Regions from separate parts of the Homo sapiens genome. Here all the other regions are linked to region 7. Evidence: promoter capture Hi-C in 16 types of primary human blood cells and fetal thymus (Javierre and others, 2016). All regions are on one chromosome and are shown on one strand. Each heading gives the region's core, a stretch centred on a gene start or on the middle of the fragment in contact. The rest is flanking DNA. Distances are from core to core; before and after follow the strand shown. Region 1 overlaps ANGPT1 (angiopoietin 1). Region 2 has its middle 220 kb from the start of ANGPT1. Region 3 overlaps ANGPT1 (angiopoietin 1). Region 4 overlaps ANGPT1 (angiopoietin 1). Region 5 overlaps ANGPT1 (angiopoietin 1). Region 6 has its middle 200 kb from the start of ANGPT1. Region 7 holds the start of ANGPT1 (angiopoietin 1).

What was found. Contacts are between HindIII fragments. The CHiCAGO score rates a contact against its expected background, and 5 or more counts as called.
Region 1: a fragment that was not itself captured here is called in contact with the fragment with the promoter of ANGPT1 in region 7 in 1 of 17 cell types (megakaryocytes); the score reaches 9.6 in megakaryocytes.
Region 2: a fragment that was not itself captured here is called in contact with the fragment with the promoter of ANGPT1 in region 7 in 1 of 17 cell types (neutrophils); the score reaches 5.1 in neutrophils.
Region 3: a fragment that was not itself captured here is called in contact with the fragment with the promoter of ANGPT1 in region 7 in 1 of 17 cell types (megakaryocytes); the score reaches 18.8 in megakaryocytes.
Region 4: a fragment that was not itself captured here is called in contact with the fragment with the promoter of ANGPT1 in region 7 in 1 of 17 cell types (megakaryocytes); the score reaches 15.2 in megakaryocytes.
Region 5: a fragment that was not itself captured here is called in contact with the fragment with the promoter of ANGPT1 in region 7 in 1 of 17 cell types (megakaryocytes); the score reaches 12.5 in megakaryocytes.
Region 6: a fragment that was not itself captured here is called in contact with the fragment with the promoter of ANGPT1 in region 7 in 1 of 17 cell types (neutrophils); the score reaches 7.8 in neutrophils.

What each region holds. Positions count from the first base shown.
Region 1 is chr8:107,258,187-107,260,886 of GRCh38, forward strand. All of the region lies in intron 8 of ANGPT1 (angiopoietin 1), which reads right to left. Among named protein-coding and RNA genes, the nearest start is that of ANGPT1, 240 kb to the right of the region's middle. The HindIII fragment of the contact is 1,847 bases long and covers 329-2,175 here.
Region 2 is chr8:107,718,744-107,721,468 of GRCh38, forward strand. No RefSeq gene overlaps it. Among named protein-coding and RNA genes, the nearest start is that of ANGPT1, 220 kb to the left of the region's middle. The HindIII fragment of the contact is 2,103 bases long and covers 211-2,313 here.
Region 3 is chr8:107,299,801-107,302,500 of GRCh38, forward strand. All of the region lies in intron 5 of ANGPT1 (angiopoietin 1), which reads right to left. Among named protein-coding and RNA genes, the nearest start is that of ANGPT1, 200 kb to the right of the region's middle. The HindIII fragment of the contact is 641 bases long and covers 1,039-1,679 here.
Region 4 is chr8:107,317,243-107,319,942 of GRCh38, forward strand. All of the region lies in intron 4 of ANGPT1 (angiopoietin 1), which reads right to left. Among named protein-coding and RNA genes, the nearest start is that of ANGPT1, 180 kb to the right of the region's middle. The HindIII fragment of the contact is 3,419 bases long and covers 1-2,700 here.
Region 5 is chr8:107,334,494-107,337,193 of GRCh38, forward strand. ANGPT1 (angiopoietin 1) reads right to left here. Exons shown (of 9, transcript NM_001146.5): 3 at 1,657-1,778. Among named protein-coding and RNA genes, the nearest start is that of ANGPT1, 160 kb to the right of the region's middle. The HindIII fragment of the contact is 6,095 bases long and covers 1-2,700 here.
Region 6 is chr8:107,698,994-107,701,693 of GRCh38, forward strand. No RefSeq gene overlaps it. Among named protein-coding and RNA genes, the nearest start is that of ANGPT1, 200 kb to the left of the region's middle. The HindIII fragment of the contact is 7,386 bases long and covers 1-2,700 here.
Region 7 is chr8:107,496,543-107,499,273 of GRCh38, forward strand. It overlaps ANGPT1 (angiopoietin 1), which reads right to left and starts at 1,376. Exons shown (of 9, transcript NM_001146.5): 1 at 720-1,376. The coding sequence starts at 1,016. The HindIII fragment of the contact is 4,855 bases long and covers 1-2,731 here.

The sequences.
Region 1 (2,700 bases), core at 2-2,501, 240 kb before region 7:
AATGTCATCCCTTTTAATGGAGGCAGTAGAAAGAGTAGATAGAACAAAGGCCTCTGGAGGTTGAGTACCTGCATTTAAATTCTACTTCTGACAAAATTCTGTGACCTATGGCAAATTATCTAACTTTTCTGTATCTCAGTTCTTGCCAAAAGTATTATTGTAGTCTGTATTTCCAAGAGTTTTTGGAAGCTTCATATATGTTATTAAATATAAATCATTTAGAATAATATAAACGTATCCATTAGAAAGAGCTCAATAAGTTTTTAAATATTATTACTGAGTACAATACAAAATTAATTGGTTATTTCTCATCCACTGTCAATTATTAAGCTTTGGTTGTAGCCTTGCACGAGAGGACTATCGGTTCTGATTCACCTTTTTCCAAACTTATAAAAGACATTTTCTGATACTCTTTGCTCTTTTTCTAAGAAATGAAACTTTGCCCGAGAAAATAGGAATGTAATCTTAAACTTTGCATTTTAGGAAGCTCAAATTTATTTGACAGTCAGGAACCTAACACTCAAATTTTTATAATTCTGCAGTTCAGTCTTTTGGGGTTTGGTTATTCTTAAGTTAGTTTCAGTCTTTGATAGTCATCTCTTTGTTCCATGCTGGTGCATATAAATACATGTATGTATTAGGCATTTTAAATATAAGTTCATGCAAGAATCACGTTTATACTAACATTCATTTATGTATTTTCACCAGAATAATTTGTAATTTTGCAATGTCCTTTCAGAGTCTCTGCTAACATTTACTCACTAAACCAATATTTATTGAACATATGCTATCTGCCACACACTATGGCAGCCACTGGGGATACAGTAGTGGACAGCATAAAATCCCTGCATTCACAGAACTTACATTTGTGTAGAATAGGCTTACGTTTTATGTACTAAATATAGAAATTGGGTTGAAATAAAAGTAGTGCAATGTAGATTTCTATAGTCAATCTTACATTAGTCATATGGATCTTCTTTTCTCTCAATATTTTTACCTTGAAACAGAGAATTTTAGTTATCTGATCATGCTTAGCAGGTCTTTCTTGGGTTCCCAAAAATGCTAAGACAATTATATTTTCCCAAAGATCTTGTCACTTCAAGGTCATACACCAGTTGAAAAAACTGCTAGCTTCTATCATTTTCTTTGTCTTCTTTAAGATTATATAGTAGGCAAAGTGAGCGTTTGTCAACTGTCTGCTGTTAGCATCTGGAAAGTTCTAGATGTACTAAGAAATTTACGTGTATGGCTTTATCCCCTATTTAAGGACTGAACTGAAAAATATCCTTCGTTAGCTTTAGAAAGTCTTGTCTACCAGTTGACATGGTTTATGCATTGGGAAAAGAAATGAGAGTTTCTACTTCAATAGATTCTTTCTACAGAAAGTTAGGTCACATTTTTACATAGCCTTTATATTATGTACTAAATATGGAAATTATACTGAAACTAAAGTAAGGAATGTAAAACGGTAACATATTTGTTTTTGTTGTTGGCAACCTTTAATAATTACAGTTTATGAAAGATTTTTAGAAATAATTCTTTAATTATAACATTAATAATTTTAGTTAACTGTAGCTTAAGCAAACTTTCAGAAATGCAGACTTTGAAAACTCCTAATTTAGTATCAAAGATTTTTTTTTAGCTGAAGGTAAGTTTGTTTTGAATGTGACAATCTAGTAACAAAAATTTGTCACTGTCTTAATTTTGGAATCAGAATTTTTCACATATTTATCTCCATATACAATAAATCTATACAAAAAGTATGCATTGAATGAGATTTCATTTTCATTTTCTTAATGTTAAATAGTAGATAAAACTATTTCTTTTAAATTTTTAATGAAACTTATGCTCTAGCCTGTCTTGCTCATTTGTTTAATAGTAATTAACCCCCTTAAACTGATAGAAGAAAGCCAAGAAATAAGGAAGTTAGGAAATGAAGAACAAAGATCAAGTCCTACCTTGGGTCTAGCTGAAATACCTTCTGCTTTCAGTTAAGCCTATTTCCTGCCATTCAGTCTTTTACCGATAAGGGTAATGATACCAGATTCTCCAGCTAGAATTCCTCTATGTACTTGAAGAAAACTAGGATAGTTAGTGGGCAATAAATCTTATTTTACTCTTAATCCCTTTTAGAAGAAACAAAGGAAAAATATATAAATAAACAAGATAAAACAAAGCTTTAATTGATGATGACAAAGAGCTATGAGTTACTAGCTCCAAAGAGTATGAAGTCTCACTGCTTAAGAGAGGGTATTTTAAATAGGCAACAGGCTCAAATACTAAGTTTAAAAAGAAAAAAAAGGAAAGGAAAAATCATTAGATGAGGAAAATGGCTCTAAGGGAAATTTTGACAGAGAATAAGTAGTAGTGGTGGGGAGTAACTAAGTAGGACCTAAGTTCCAGGCAATACTCCAGTTACCTGGACTGTCAATGACATTCATCCTTATGTTCTCCAGTTCTTAGCTATCTAAATTCCACATTTTAGCTTTCCATAATAAATAGCTTTGCAAGACCTGGATTCTTTCAAAGGGACATTTGATAAGGTAATGGCGTTTATTACAAAAACACATTTACTTAGACTATTCCAGCCCAAGCAATAAGTGGAAATATTCTCTCCCAAACATATGTGTTTATTGGTGAGTAAGAATTGGGTCCAAGAATAATTATGGATGAAAGAACATGACGAAGTTCAATCATTTA
Region 2 (2,725 bases), core at 12-2,511, 220 kb after region 7:
TCAGAGACCATGAGGGAAGGGAAAGTACCAAATGGAAGAGGCAGAATAATCCCTGGAGCTCAAAGAAGGATGGGAATAGTTCATGTCTCCACTAGCTAAAGTAGAAAAATCTTGCAGCACGTGGGATATCAGGCAGAATACTATGAAGATTATCATCTCGGTGGCAGGAAAAATTAGCTCTAAACTAGTTGTTCTACTGCTGTATAATAAAGCTTGAAAGCAGGACTCAAAAGAGTCAAACATTTCCAACATACCTACATTCATGAGCAAAGTTCACTAACACATTAAAGAATGTGAGCAATCAGCAAAGTAAAATTTACAATGCCTGGCATCCAATAGGTAATTATCAGGCACACAGGGAGGCAAAATCTAAAGTTAATGAATAGAGAAAAAAATGTAATCAGGTAAGACCAACCTAGAATTGGCAGATGATTAATATACAAAGGTATCAATGCAGTTTTATAACTCTTTTCCTCATGTTTCAGAAGATAGAACAAAATATGATTATTTTAAGGGCATAGTAGATATAAGAGAGATCAAAAATAAAATTTTAGAGTTAGAGAATACAATGTTTGAGATTTAAAAATGTACTTGAAATTAACTGTAAATTAGACACTGTATAACAACAGATTAATTGAAGACATAGTATTAAAAATTATCTAAATTAAAACACAGAAAAAAAAGTCACATTATAAACTAGTGATAAAGAGAATATCTTCTTAAAAGCCTCCAGAGTAAAATAACACATTTCAAACAGAAGAGCAAAGAAGAATAATAAGAGACATCTCTTCAGATACAATATAAGCCCAAAGACAGTGGGACATCTCTACAGAAAATAAAAATATTGCCAAACTAAAATTTTATCGCCAGTCAAATATCTCTTTTAAAGATATAGAAAAAAAAATAGCCAGGCATGGTAGAGGGCACCTGTAATCCCAGCTACTCGGGAGGCTGAGGCAGGAGAATCACTTGATCTCAGGAGGCAGAGTTTGTAGTTTGTCAAGATCACGCCATTGCAGTCCAGCCTGGGCAACAAGAGTGAAACTCCATCTCAAAAAAAAAAAAAAAAGTAGAAAAAAAATATTTTCCAGATATTCTAAAGCTGAAGGGACTCATTACCAGCAGACATTTAATACAAAAAAGGTTAATTGAAGTGGTTTATGATGAAAGAAAATGATATCAGGTCAAAGTCTGGATCTTTACAAAGCAATTAAAGACACCAGAAATAATAGTTATAAAATAATTGTCTTTCAAATTTTATTAAAAGATACTTGACTGTTTAAAGCAAAAATATTGCAATGAATTTTGGGATTTATTATCTACAGAGAGAAGTAAAATATATAACAATAGTGCAAAAGCCAGCTTTACCCTGATACCAAAATGAGAAAAAGATATTAGAACAGCAAGAAAATCTACAGACGAATATTGCTCATAAATATAGACACAAAACTCCTTAACAGTATTTCTAATATTTAAATCCAACAATATATGGAAGAGTAATATATCATGACCAAGTGAGATTTGTCCCACGATGCAAATTATATTAATATTAATACATTAAAATATTTATATTAATATCTTCAAAAGTCAATCAATAGAATTTACAGTATTAAACTACTAAAAAATGAAAAGCCATAAAATCATTCTTAATACATGCAGAAAAAATATTTTATAATAGCCAACATTCATTCATGATTAAAACTCTCAGCAAGCTAGAATAGTAAAGAAAATCTATCTCTACTAAAAATACAAAAAAAAAATTAGCCGGGTGTGGTGGCAGGCGCCTGTAGTCCCAGCTACTCAGGAGGCTGAGGCAGGAGAATGACGTGAACCCAGGAGGCGGAGCTTGCAGTGAGCGGAGATCATGCCACTGTACTCCAGCCTGGGCGACAAAGCAAGACTCCATCTCAAAAAAAGAAAAAAAAAGAAAAGAAAAAAAGGAAAGTCTAATGTATAAAATTCTAAGTACTCTATGAAGAAGAAAGTCTTTGGAACTAATAATGAGTTTAGCAAGGTTGTAGGATATAAAGTCATTATAAAAATTTCAGCTGAGTCTATATATAAGCAATAATGAATCTGAAACTGAATTTTTTAAAAACATCATTTATAATAGCATCAAAAATATACTATTTAGACATAAATTTGGTGAAAGATGTGCAAAAACTGTACACTAAAAAGCAAAAAATATTTCTGAGAGAAATTTAAAAAGACAAGTGAAAATAATATACCATTTTTATTTGAAGACTCAATATTGTCAACATGTGAATTCTTCCTAGATTGTGCTTCACTGAAATCCTAATCAAAAGCTAAGCAAGCTTGTTTGTAAAAAATGACAATTTAATTTTAAAATTTATATGGAAATGCAGAGGACCTTGAAAGCTAAAATAACTTTAAAAAGGAAAAGTTGAATTTATACTAACTGAAATGAAGACTTATAAAGCTACAGCAGTAAAACCAGTGTAGTATGTGACACCAATAACCTCTTTCCATTTACAAAGAGTAACTCAAAGTGGATTAGAAATCTAAATATAAGAGTTAATACTGACTAGGCGCGGTGGCTCATGCCTGTAATCCCAGCACTTTGGGAGGCCAAGGTGGGTGGATCACCTGAGGTCAGGAGTTTGAGACCAGCCTCGTCAACATAGTGAAACTCCATCTTTACTAAAAATACAAAAATTAGACGGGCATGGTCGTGGGCGCCTGTAATCCCAGCTACTTTGGAGAC
Region 3 (2,700 bases), core at 109-2,608, 200 kb before region 7:
TCTAGATATACTATATATCTAGATATGTAGTTATATCTAGATATACTATATATTTAGATATGTAGTTATATCTAGATATACTATATATCTAGATATGTAGTTATATCTAGATATACTATATATCTAGATATGTAGTTATATCTAGATATACTGTATATATACTATATACTAGTTATATCTAGATATCTAGATATAACTATATATCTAGATATCTAGATATGTAGTTATATCTAGATATAACTATATATATAGTTATATCTAGATATAGGTATCTATATCTATAGAGATCTATATATATCTCTATATATCTATATATAGTATATATATAGTATAGTATAGTATACATCTATATATAGAGATCTATATCTATCTATATATAGAGATATATATGCTTAGAAGAAGACTGGCAAACTGTAAATGCTCAATACATTTGAGCTATTTTGTTAATCAGCTTGTAAATTACTTTTGAGGAAATTCACACAATATTTGTTCTTACCAGTGCTATGCTATGCAATTATACTAAGGGATTAAACACTAAATTTTTTACCTGCAAAAATGTGTATGTATGTCAGTCTGAAATACCCATCTTTATTATAGAACAATGTTACTACTTGTAAGAGAATCTATGATTATAATAGGGAAATAATAAAACAAGAGAATGAACATCTAAGTCCAGAAGAAGGCCAGGTCTTTCTCTCTTCAGCTCAGTTATCTCCCCTTCTCACCACACTCTGCTAGTATTTCAATAAAACTAAATCTAAATCTAACAATAGTCCTGACCAGGTAATATTGGAACTTCTCCTTCTTCTCTCTGAAAAGCCATGGTGGCCATTCAGCAGTGATAAAATTTGCTCCTTATGGGTACGTATGGGTATGTTACTGCTAACCTGTTCAGATTATTATTTTTTCTTAGCCTAAATATCAGAAGTTAATTCAGTAGGTACTTGACATTTGTGAATATAATATTCTAAGTTTTATTTATTTAAGAAAACCCAAAAACTCCATCATATTTAAAATCCACCATTTTGTAGAAGCGTAAGCTTGAATCTTGCTTTCCTGATGAAACCAACCCAGGAGCCAGCCATGGAAGGAGTAAATTGGATTCTCCAACATTCTATTTTATGTAAGCATGAAAAGCAAACCTATTCAGGATTATGAATTGAGGTGGGATCTTTTTCTTCACATTACCAGGCGCAGTGGTTCTGCAAATAGCCTGTGCACCATTTGCATCTCATAATGTTTCAAACTAGAGTGTAGTTGTGGTTATATATGAACTAAAGTCCATAGAATGACTAAAGCTGTATTTGTACTGCACCCCTTCCCACAGACCACATGGTAGTACTGATGATGAAGTCAAAAAAATTCTAAAATTGTGAATATTCTTGATCTGAAAACTTTGGGAATTATTTTTCGATTCATTTATATCACAGAATCACTATGAGTCTAAATGGAAGTTCGCTTAGTATTTTTAGTTAATTTTATTTTTATAGTCAGATTATAAGCTCTAGTGGAACTGACAATAATTTAGAGGTTCTTTCAGGTCTTGAGTAGTACTGTAGGTAAATGATAAAGCAAATGTTTTAACTCCACCTCCTACTCCAGATCAAATTCTCACATACTTCATCTGCTGTGTGTATGGTGTGTGTTTATGATGTGTGTGTGTGTGTGAATTGAATTTAAGCTTAAGTGTGATTTTAGGATATCTTCCTTAGAATAAGTTATCTTCATCTCCTCATTCCCAGACTTGCCATTGTATTTCAATTTTTCATTTGTTTGCTTCTTTAAGCCATGGGATTCAATGTAATCTTGCACAGAAATCAAACATGAAAAACAGCAAAACCACACTTCTCTGGTAGATGGCTGAGGTAGCAAAGTACAGAAGAGTGCCTCCTGCCTGTCCTCCCTCCTGTGCCCACTCCACTCCTACATTTTACCCCCTTATAGACAACATCAAAGGTATCTTTCAAGAAGAAAATTTTGTCCCAGCAAAGGGGAAAAAGAAACCATTTAGAGCTAACATAAACAACTATTCATTACGGAAATCAAGAGAGACAGAGGACAGTGGTAAAAGGGAAAATAGAATTGTATCAGACCTGGACTATAGTCCAGACTTCCTGGGTTGCCAATTAAGTGGCATCTGGCAAACTGGGCTCCAGGATTCATTTCCTTTGCCTATCAAAGGAGACTAACAATCAGGAAGACTAAGTAAGTTAGACTGATTTACTATGCACTGCATGGAAGTGTTGATATTGCCATCAGCAGGTCACTTACTCATTTATTCCAGCACATATCTATTGAGACCTACTATGTGCCAGAAACTATGCTAGGTTCCAGGAAATCAAAGATAAAAGGCACAATCTCTGCCTTTTAGAACTCTGGTAGTGAGAAAGTCATGTAAAGTTGCCTGAGGGAATCAGAGAAGATTCCAAGAGCATTGCACAGGCCCCAGAGGAAATGGGGATAAGAGACAAGTAATTTAGGTGGGGGCATGAGGGGAGGACAGTTGTTTTATCCTGTAAGGGCATGCGGTCCTCTTGGGACCCTGGGCTTCCAGTTAAAACTCACAGACACTGAAGAGCAAGGTTCTTGCCTAATCTCACTCTCTTCAGCTGTCTCACCTCAAAACTTCCCATATACCCTGCTTTACACAGACCATTTCTATCACTATACTTATTGACAGCATTTTATAACTATCTGCAT
Region 4 (2,700 bases), core at 70-2,569, 180 kb before region 7:
TTCCCAGTAGTCTGAGCAATATTTGGCACATTATAGAAACTTACCAAATATTTGTTAAATAAAAATGAATAAATATCATTTCCCCAGAACAGAACAGTTGCTGCAGAACTGTTTTGAATGAATGGATAAATTTATGAACCACATCCTGCTACAGCAGAAATGAGCTTCGAGCTGATTTGAGCAGTGTGAGACAATCAGACTATGTAAGTTTATAATACAGTCTAAATACTTTTTTTAAAAACTTTTTCTTTTCTTTTTTCCTTCCTTCCTTTTTTTACATGCTGTTAGTAATTAAATTCCCAATTATATATTTGCCACGTGTATGCTCAACATGAGATGACATTTTAATCACCAGTGTACATAGATAACCAGTGAATTTATTTTTATTTTTATTTTTTTTTTTTTTGAGACAGAGTCTTACTCTGTTGCCCAGGCTGGAGTGCAGTGGCGTGATCTCAGCTCACTGCAACCTTCGCCTCCTGGGTTCAAGCAATTCTCCTGCCTCAGCCTCCTGAGTAGCTGGGATTACAGGCATGTGCCACCATGCCCAGCTAATTTCTGTATTTTTAGTAGAGATGGGGTTTCACCATATTGGCCAAGCTGGTCTTGAACTTCTGACCTCAAGTGATCCACCCACTTTGGCCTCCCAAAGTTCTGGGATTACAGGCATGAGCCACCGCGCCTGGCCAACTAGTGGTTTTTTAATAGTCACAGTAACTGATTACTCTCCCCTGAAAGATTCCAAACCTTGTTTGTATGCCTTATTAATGTAAATTACTTAATTCCAGCAAATATTTAATTTTGGTAATTTTGAATTGCCAAAAACATGAAGCAATAGGCTGAGCTTTGACATTGTGATAACACTGAGGGCAATATTTCTTTAGTGGATAATGTTTCTAAGAATAAATGTGGCCCAATGTTTGCAGATGAAGGTTAGGCAAAAATAAATGTGTTACTCAGAAGCCTTACAAAGTGGATGCAATTCAGTTTGAATTGACTATTTGCCTAAGACACCATTATTGTCTATTAGGAATAAGAAGAGGAAAGTTTGGTGAATTATTTCAGATAATGTGTTTATTAGTTGTCCTTCTTAAAAGTATCTCACAACATCAGATGTGTTAGTAGAAAAAGTGCTGTGAAACTAAACAAAAGCACTCTCTGAATGCAAAGATAGATTTACAGTTTCTGGATCAAACAAATGTTTGGGAAAAAAAGTACATGTCTAGCCAACACTTCCTAGGAATTCTTTATCATATAACTTTAATGCATTATAGGCATTTTAGAAGGCACTAAAATAAAGATAATTACGATTATTTTAATGTTGACTATGACTTAACACAGAAGCTATGCGTTTTATACTAACCTCTTTTAATATTTCAACATTTAAGAAATTAATTCATTTACTTGTTTATGTATGTATTTATTCTAGGCCCTCTATTTCTTTTTTAAATTTGAATTTTTTAATGACAAATAATAACTGTATATATTTTTGGAGTAAAACGTGATGTTTTGGTACATGTATACACTGCAGAATGATCAAGCTAATTAACATATCCATTACCTCACATACTCGTCATTTCTTTGTGGTCAGAACATTTACAATCCACTTTTTTGGCAATTTTGAACTACATAATTGACAAAAGTTGTATATATTTATGGTGTACTACATACCTACCGGGTAGATATTATGATCCCATTTTAGAGATCAGAAAATGGAGGCCAAAAAAGCTGCCTGGATGACTGTCAACACTCAAACACTCCGGGGCATTGTATTTAAACATTTTCTGCAGAGGAAGTTTTGCTTATAAAGCACATAATGAATGTACTTAACTGAATCTTGTCCATCGAAGGAGAAAGAAGAAACTAAAGTTTAATGAATCAACTGTGTCTTCAGCAATGGGATCTTCGCTTGTATATTGAGCATCTAATGTAATTCTTTCCCTATTGTGGTGAAATAGACAGAATTCTCCTGACTTTATACATGATGAGACAGCTTCCTTAAGGTTAAACTGGTTGCCAATGACAGGGGAAGCTCATTAACATTTTTTTAGTCTGGCCTTGCAGTATTATATTCAGGCTGTCTCCACAGATTAGTGGGTCAGATTGAAACCAGAAGACCTTTTAGGGTCAATTAAAATGTTTGGCTTTTTGGATGACGACACAGCTCGTGTTTTTTAAGATCTTGTAGAATACCTATATTTGAGCTTTAAAATGTACATTTTAGAATATTTGATGCGTTTATTCTGGTATGCTTATTTTGAAATATTTGCATATATATAAATTTATAAGTAAAATATTTACATATAATCCTTCAATAAATAATAAATTTATATGATATATAAATTTTGGTCATAAAACAAAGAAAGGCTTTACCCATGTGTTTTAGAATTTGAATAAAAGTTCATTTTAATAACTGATATTCAATCTAGTATTATGCTATTAGCCATTTAAAATTTTAAATTCACCATAGCCAACGACTAAGGCTCCAGTGAAAATAAAGATATGCAGACAATGAAAATCTTCATAAAAACCTTATGAGAGCCACTTTCCACTTTTGTGTCTCTTATGAGTTCTAAAAGTAACTAAATATTTAGTTAGAACGCTTAACAGTAAGATTAAAGAAAAAAGAGATTAACAAGAAGCAAATAAAATCTATGGTCATGACAGCAGAGAACCTATTGGAAAATTAGGCAATCACCT
Region 5 (2,700 bases), core at 78-2,577, 160 kb before region 7:
TTCTGTATGATAAAGCTGTGGTTTTTAATTTTCCTGTGTGTTTTTTTTTGTCCTTATGCTATAATAAACGTGCTATTGTATAATTATAAAACCAAACGACGACTCAGAAAAATAAGGGAAAATTGTCATCGTTTTACTTATCCATGATTCCTGGGCAAAGCCTTCACAAATAGCATCTTGAAATATGACTGTAAATGTGGTTCACTTTTGGTGACAAAATTAAACCATAAAGGGGTGACCCTAGATTAAGGGGTGGTTGAAGCATACCTATTACATACATGTATAGGTCTGGTTACTGTGAAATTGCAGGAGAATAAATGGTATATTTCAACAGGATTGTTAGTTCTAGAACATTTAATCATGCAATAAGGGTCAAGTCCTGTCAAGTTTATTTGTAGTTATACAGCTAACCCCATGTCACAGTACAAGGATAAATAAATGTAACACTTAGAAATACAAGTCATACAGCATGAGTGACCCCTTTCAGATTCTAAACCAACAGCCAGGTTTGTATTTTTCATGCAGAAGTTTAATTGTAATTGTTGCATTATGCTCTACTTTTAGCATGAAGTTGGGAAATTCTTTTAGTTTGTAGATAATATGAAGAGGCCATGTGTTATAGTGGAAAGATCCTGACACCTAAATTACATTCCAATTTCGGCCACTAGCAAGTTGTGTGACCTTGGACAGGTCACTGCCTTCCACTGAGTCTCTGTTCCCTCACTTGTAAAGAACAGAACTAGCAGTCCTCTTAGGTGCCTTCCTGGTGTGGAATATAAAGGGAACTCTAGTGCCACCAATTCAATGGCATTTAACCAGTTTCTATCAATACCATGGTCTTCACCTCAATATTATGCATAGGAACTGAACCTTCTTCAAGTTATCTAGATACCCCGAAGAAAAATCAATGTAATGCAAGAAACTTGTCCTAAGGAAGTCAGTGTTTTGAATTGTTCATCATCAATGTTAATGACTTCAAAATAATACACTCTTTCATTGTCCCAGCATTCAAGATGTCTAAGTTCCAATTCAATCAACTGAAATGATTCATAATTTATAAAACAAGATGGTGTGATGACATCTATAAAGCTAACCAAAGAAATTTACTATGTCCAAAGTAAATGGCTGTAAATGACAACTAAAAAACCAAACCCTTGATCAGCTTTATAGGTAAATTATTTTCTAGAAAAAATATACATTTTCCTTCTCTCTAGTGCTATATTTCTGAATTCAAAAACGCTGTAGCTTTGTAAAAGCCTAAGAATTGGGGTTTGAGTAGGAATTTAAGAGGCTCTATTCTCTGTTGTTATAGGTTTTCATTCTGCTGAAAAATGTCAATATTTTATGTCACTTTATTTAGTCATAGAATCAAATTTTTGTAGATATGGTGAGATTTGAACTACTACCATTAGAGAAATTAATGCTAAAAGTTATATAAAGCAAATATTTCAAGAGTATCAGCAACAATATTAATTTATTCCTGACATACTAGCTGAATTTACCTTAAGCTCTCCTTTATTTTTATATTAATATTAATTTGGCTCTATATTTCATTTTTGTAAACCACCTCAACCTTATTTGTTTAAGAGTTGGCAGAGAGGTGAAGGATATAAATAAGTACACACAGAAACATTTTTGGAATAAAGCAATCCTCACCTGTTTTTTTCATGGATCTTCAAGATTTCATTTGTCTGTTGAAGAAGTTGCTTCTCTAGCTTGTAGGTGGATAATGAATTCTCCAGCAGCTGTATCTCAAGTCGAGAAGTTTGATTTAGTACCTTAAGATAAAAGATGAAAATATTTCAAACTTCAGTCACGAATCAAAGAACTTTTTTAAGTTTTATTTTGTCGTTAAATATTTTTTCAAGAATAATTTAACAAATGGTTTACCGCCGGGCGCAGTGGCTCACGCCTGTAATCCCAGCACTTTGGGAGGCCAAGGCGGGTGGATCACGAGGTCAAGAGATCGAGACCATCCTGGCAAACATGGTGAAACCCCGTCTCTACTAAAAATACAAAAACTTAGCCGGGCGTGGTAGCGGGCGCCTGTAGTCCCAGCTACTCGGGAGGCTGACGCAGGAGAATGGCGTGAACCCGGGAGGCGGAGCTTGCAGTGAGCCGGGATCGCGCCACTGCACTCCAGCCTGGGCGACAGAGTAAGACTCTGTCTCAAAAAAAAAAAAAAAAAAAAAAAAGGTTTACATTCTACTTATATTCTACCAACTAATGTTTTACATGCCTTTCAGATATTATTTTGGTTTGAGATTGAAATTGCAATTGAACAAACATATTGTGTTTTAGGACTTCTGTGTCCTAAAACCCTAGGATATTCTCCTGTGCTAGTTGCTTCATATATTTTATCTCCAATATCTGTAAGTGCACGTTAGTATTAAGTACAAGGTCTTAGATATTGTGAATAATTAAGAATAACTAATAGGCATGTAAAAGATACCTGCCTTGGTGGATCACCTGGCAAAAAACAATTAGAAATGTGCAAAATTCTCTTGACATAGTTTAGAAAGACTCATTATCACACATTTATAGAACGCCTATCACACTAGGTAATGCTAGCCTTTCCGGATATCATGACCACCTATCAAAGGAGAAATTGTTATCATCACTTTACAAATGAGAAAACTGAGCTTCAGACAGAAGCCCAAGTTCACACAGGAACCAAGGGAAGAGTGGGGTTTCAAACTC
Region 6 (2,700 bases), core at 142-2,641, 200 kb after region 7:
ACATGGATGAATCTCAATTATGCTGAGTGAAAGAAGACCAAAAAAACTACATATGCTCTGATTCCATTTATATTAAAGCCTACAAAGTGATCAGTGGTGTAGGTAGAGGGGTGAGGATATAGGAGAGAATAGGCACCAATGAACATAAGAAAACTTTTGAGGCTGATGTATATGTTCATGAGGTGATTGTGGTGACTATTACATGGGAATAGACATACTTCAAAACAGCAAGTTATATACTGTAAATTTATTTTATATCAATTGTATCAGTAAAGTTGTTTTAAAAACAACAATAAGCAAACATTTAAAAAAATAGGTTGTGGAACATACTAGAAGGTATTGTACTGATAACCAAAAAGTCAGAATGGCTACATCTTATCCATTCTTCCTCCACAACATAGCCACTTGCTTTTCTCTTGGTTGACTACTTTTCCTACATTCTTGATCCATGTAGTATATTGCTATTTGGAACAAAGAATAGAAACAAAAATTACTCATAATTCCACCACATAGAATTTATTTCCAGTTTTTAAATATCAGATCATACTCTCTGCTTTTGAATTTAGTTTTAGTATTAGCCTTATACAATTTGTATTCTGTTTTATTGAAGTTTCTAGTCTTTCAACTTTTCTAATACACAGAAAATTGTAAAAAGTGAGACACTTAGGTAATCATCCCTTGACTTTAGGATTTTGCTTCATATTTCTTTAAAAAAACAAACATTATAAAGTTCCACATTCCATTCCTTCCCTTTCTCTCCAGAAGTAAGCAAAGCCCTAAAACTGTTATATATCATTATCATATATGGTTTTATACTTTATTATATATGTATATGCATATAACAAATATGTACCATTGCTTTGTGTTTTTAAAAGTTCCATAAATGATACCATGAGGAACATGATACAGCTTGCTTTTTCTCTTCACTATGTCTTTGAGCTTTATCCATGTTGACACATATCAATCCAATTCATTTCTTTTGTCCGTGTCCTACTGCATTAATAAATTCAATTTAGCATTGCTGTTTCACTTAAAATTATGTCACAGTTGTTCTCCAAGCCCTGTGGTTTTCTGGGTTTGGAAGTTTCTTCCCCCATCTCTTCCTGCCTGGCTCTGTCTCCTCTCTCAAGGCACAATTCAGGGAAACTTCCCAGACAAACCTACCTGAAGTATTTCTCATCTTCGCCACCACCCAACAAATAATTACTCTTTTTGACATCATCCTGCTAATTTCTTTTATAGCATTTACTGTTTATTTTGTCTGTTTATTGCATGGTTCTTCTGGTAGACTGTAAATTCTCCAAGGTCAGAGACTTTGCCTTTCTGGTTCACCTTTGTATTTTAAAGAGGCGTGTCACATTAGTAAAGCGCATGTCACATTATGGGTACTCTACTAATACATAGAGAAAGAATGAATAAATGGATCAACAGATGGATGATGGGTGAAAGGTCACTTCTCGTATTAATTCTGTGAGGCTGTGTTCTATTGTCAACAAAGCAAAAGAGTTAAAAAAAAAAAAAAAAAGAGGAGATCTTAAATTTTATATCTTATTCCTTAGCCACACATGGGCCAATCTACTCTGGATGGCCAATAACTAAGTCTTCTATAAAAATAATAAACTTTCTAAATGTTCTAGTTTTCGAGTTTGAAAGCTACAGTTCAGTCCCCTAAATTTCTTTTTATGAATTATCAACTAAAACAGAAAATAAAATTCTGGCCATTCAGGCACATAAACAGAACATAGTCTTTATTTTATTATCCTGGGAAGTATTCAATGAGACCATAAATATTTCATTGTGGGGTTCATGAATTATTTGTAATTTATGCAGGACACAGGTAATTTGTTTTTAACATCTAAATGAATAGTTTCTAAAGTTTGGGAAATCTGAGAAGATCTTTATACCTACAGGTGTGAATACTACTCTTTTAATTTTATAGAAATGACTTTTCAATATCATAATGAAAAATTGAAATTTCTAGACAGTAATTTAACTTTCTGTAATATCTAGTGATAAGAAACACACATATACACAAACATATATGCTTCTAAAATAGTATAAACATTGATATAGTAGTTTTATAAAATTGGCCTAGAATAATTTAAAAATATATGTAATTTTCTTGAATTAAAGTAGGTAATTTTATTGTGTAGATAGCACATATATTTAAAACTATCCTTTGTATTTGGGTATCCTTTAAAGTAGTGCATCTTTATTTTGCAGATGTTTTAATAAAATGCATAATACTAATAGCTACCATTTATTGTGCACATACCATTTGGAAGGCACAGTACTAAGAATTACTATGTGTATCTCGTTGAGGCATCACAAGAATCTTATAAGGTAAATATTATTTTTTCCATTTTACATGCAAGAAAAGACACTCAGGAGAGGTTATTTAACTCATCCAAGTGAGTGGTAGAACTAAGACATAACTCTAAGCCTATATGCTTAACCACTACATGCTATTGCGAGTGAGGTACAGTATAAATGAGAAAAGAAAAACACTCTTCTTCCTATAACCTCAAAATCATAATTGTTAAAATTTTAATCTTTCTCTTCAGTTTTTAGAAGTTGGGATTGTATTATGTACATTCTCTATTCACCTTTCACTTAAGTTTATATCATAAATATTGCCCATCTCACTAAATATTTTACTTTAAAAATGACTTTTGACAGTTGAATATTCCTTGGCATTTA
Region 7 (2,731 bases), core at 126-2,625:
CGTTCAGCCCATATCTGCAGGTGCATGTCTTCCTCAACAGCCAGCATGCCCTCATCGTGAGCGAGCAACCCCTTTCCGACAGTTAACATTACAATGTATCTTTTTAATTTTTTTTCTCAAGGACAGAAGAAAAAAATATTTAACAGAAATCAGTCTACTATTCTACCACTTGCTGAAACTAACAGTTCCCTTTACATAAATATACAATTTCTCCAACCAAATATCATATTTTATATTTACTCTCACTTCATGTTAATTTTTATAAAGGTTAAAAAAACAAATACTTTGTGATGATTTGCCACCCCAGCGGCACAAAATTTTCTGGTGCAAAATCGATTTGATCTTATTAATTAATATTGTCATTATTATTTATTTTTCACCAACTTGCTTAAGAGGTACATACTTTCTTTCTTAAGGTAGTGTTTTGACAGAGAGAACCTTAATGCTGAACTTTAGAAAAGAGAAACCAAAAATGTCATAAAATTTGCCAGGGCTAGACACACAAACGGGGTGCCCCCACACATTCATAGGTTTGGGCAAGCCCCCAAACCTTGGCTTACCCAGGAAGCCAAACCCAGACAGCCGTCTTGCAATTGCAAACACTGCCCCCCTGGAGCAAAAGGTAAATACACAAATGCTCCCCTAAGGAACTTTAAGTTAGCTGCAGTGCAAGAAAGGAAAAAGGTCCGTGCTATTAGAAACTGAAAGCAATCACTTACTTTTTGCAGCCACTGAGTATAATTTTCCATCACATGTTCCAGATGTTGAAGTTTCTGGGAAGAGAAATCCGGTTCCACGTGTGGAGCATCTCTCTGCAGAGCGTTTGTGTTGTACTGGTCTGTCGTACTCTCACGACAGTTGCCATCGTGTTCTGGAAGAATGAAAGTGTAGGCACATTGCCCATGTTGAATCCGGTTATATCTTCTCCCACTGTTTTCTGGACTTCGGCGCTGATTGCTGCACCCTATGTGAGTCAGAATGGCAGCGAGGAAAGCAAAGGAAAGGAAAACTGTCATTGTACTGCCAGCACACTCCTTCCGTGCCTCTCGCAAAACTTGCTCCTTTCTTCTGACCTCTAAAACTAGTTCTTTATTTCAGGTAAAACTGCTTGTTTGTTTGACTCTTTCCCCCTCAAAGAAAGCGTTTGAAGAAGAATCATAGAAAACTAGCCATTTGTTAGCTTTGTTCTAAAATTTTAAAATTTTTTATTTCACTGCAATGATGTTTTTCTTCGTTAAAACTTGAGATATTTATTGCATAGTAGCTGAGATTTATTGTTTCCTCTCTGTGTGACCGTTCAGCATGGAGCCTGCCTGAGTCAGCTGCGTGTACATATTCTAGACCCTTTCCTCTACCCTATCTGCTGCAGATCTGCTATTTTCTCCCAGACCTCAGTGAGTTTTATTAAGGTTGCACATCCAAGCCAAGCTGGAAGCAGGCAGCCTTTCACAAGATGACTTGACAGGAATGCATGAGTGTGCCCCTATACTAAGGATTGCTGATGGCTTAGGGCGGCGGGATCGTCTTACAAATTGGCTAGATGCGCATGACCTCGATCATGTATGGCCCTCCCGCCCCTTTCCACAGACAATTGCCTTGAGCCTTTAGCAGATTCATGGCAAATCAATAAATAGAGCAGTCCACCTTAATACACTTTTGGTGTGCATGCTGACCTACTAAAATATAGCAAACTAGCAGTATGTTTTTAAAGTTACTATTTAGTCGAGGGACCCTAAGAAGAAAATTGGCATAATGTCCAATGGAATTATTTTTGATAGAGAATGATAAACCCATATCATTATTAAATGTCTTTAAAAAACATGTATTCTTGACTCTGAGGAAAAATATGTTAAAAAACAGTTTTTACAGATGGTATTCTTTCATTGTATTCACTTAGACTTTTAGGAGTTGAAGAAAATAATCAGAGAGGATCAAATTAGCAAGAAAATTAGCATCATTTGTTGCTCAAAGCAATATGTTGCACAAAGCAATATAGTATGTGCATATTAAAGAGGGTTATCTAAGTACCTTTTGGTATAGGGTTCTTAAATGAAACTGGTGTCCTGATCAGAATGCAACCCTTCATGTTCTGTGTATATAAATTGAGCAACTTCCCTACAAAAACAATGTGGCTACAATTTAAAGCAGTGGCTTGAGAATTATTAATTCCTGTGGTATATCCTAATCCTGTATTTTACAAGGATCTCTTTGGTGGCTATGGCTGTCTTTAACACTGGTGTGGAAGTTCCACATAAAAACCTCCTGTGGCTGCACAGACATACTATGTGAGAACAAGCATATATCAGGTGTGCTAACAGCCAGCAATGGGCTGTACAGGAGACATCTCTGTGCTTCTGTGAAGGAAGAAAGAAAAATTATCAGAAGATGATTTCCCACAGGCAGCGTATAAACATTTGAACAAAGGGACCCATAAACATAAACAGGCAATAATTGTAGAATTTAGGGAACGGCTTTGAGATCTTTACTAGATGCAGAAAACCTGAATTATGAGTTGGGATTTTCATTAGGAACTGGGAGGGCTTTTAGACAACTGCAGTCATGGTGTGAAAACAGAAGCCACAGCTGTCATCTCCCATGTCTTGGAAGGAGAACAGGGCAGTGGGTGAAGGTCCGTAGTGGTTAGAGATGGGCATTTAGGGAGAAGTTAGAGGAGAGGTCAAAACAAATTCCAGAACAAATGCGATTTACTTGGGGAAAGAAACCTTGCCGA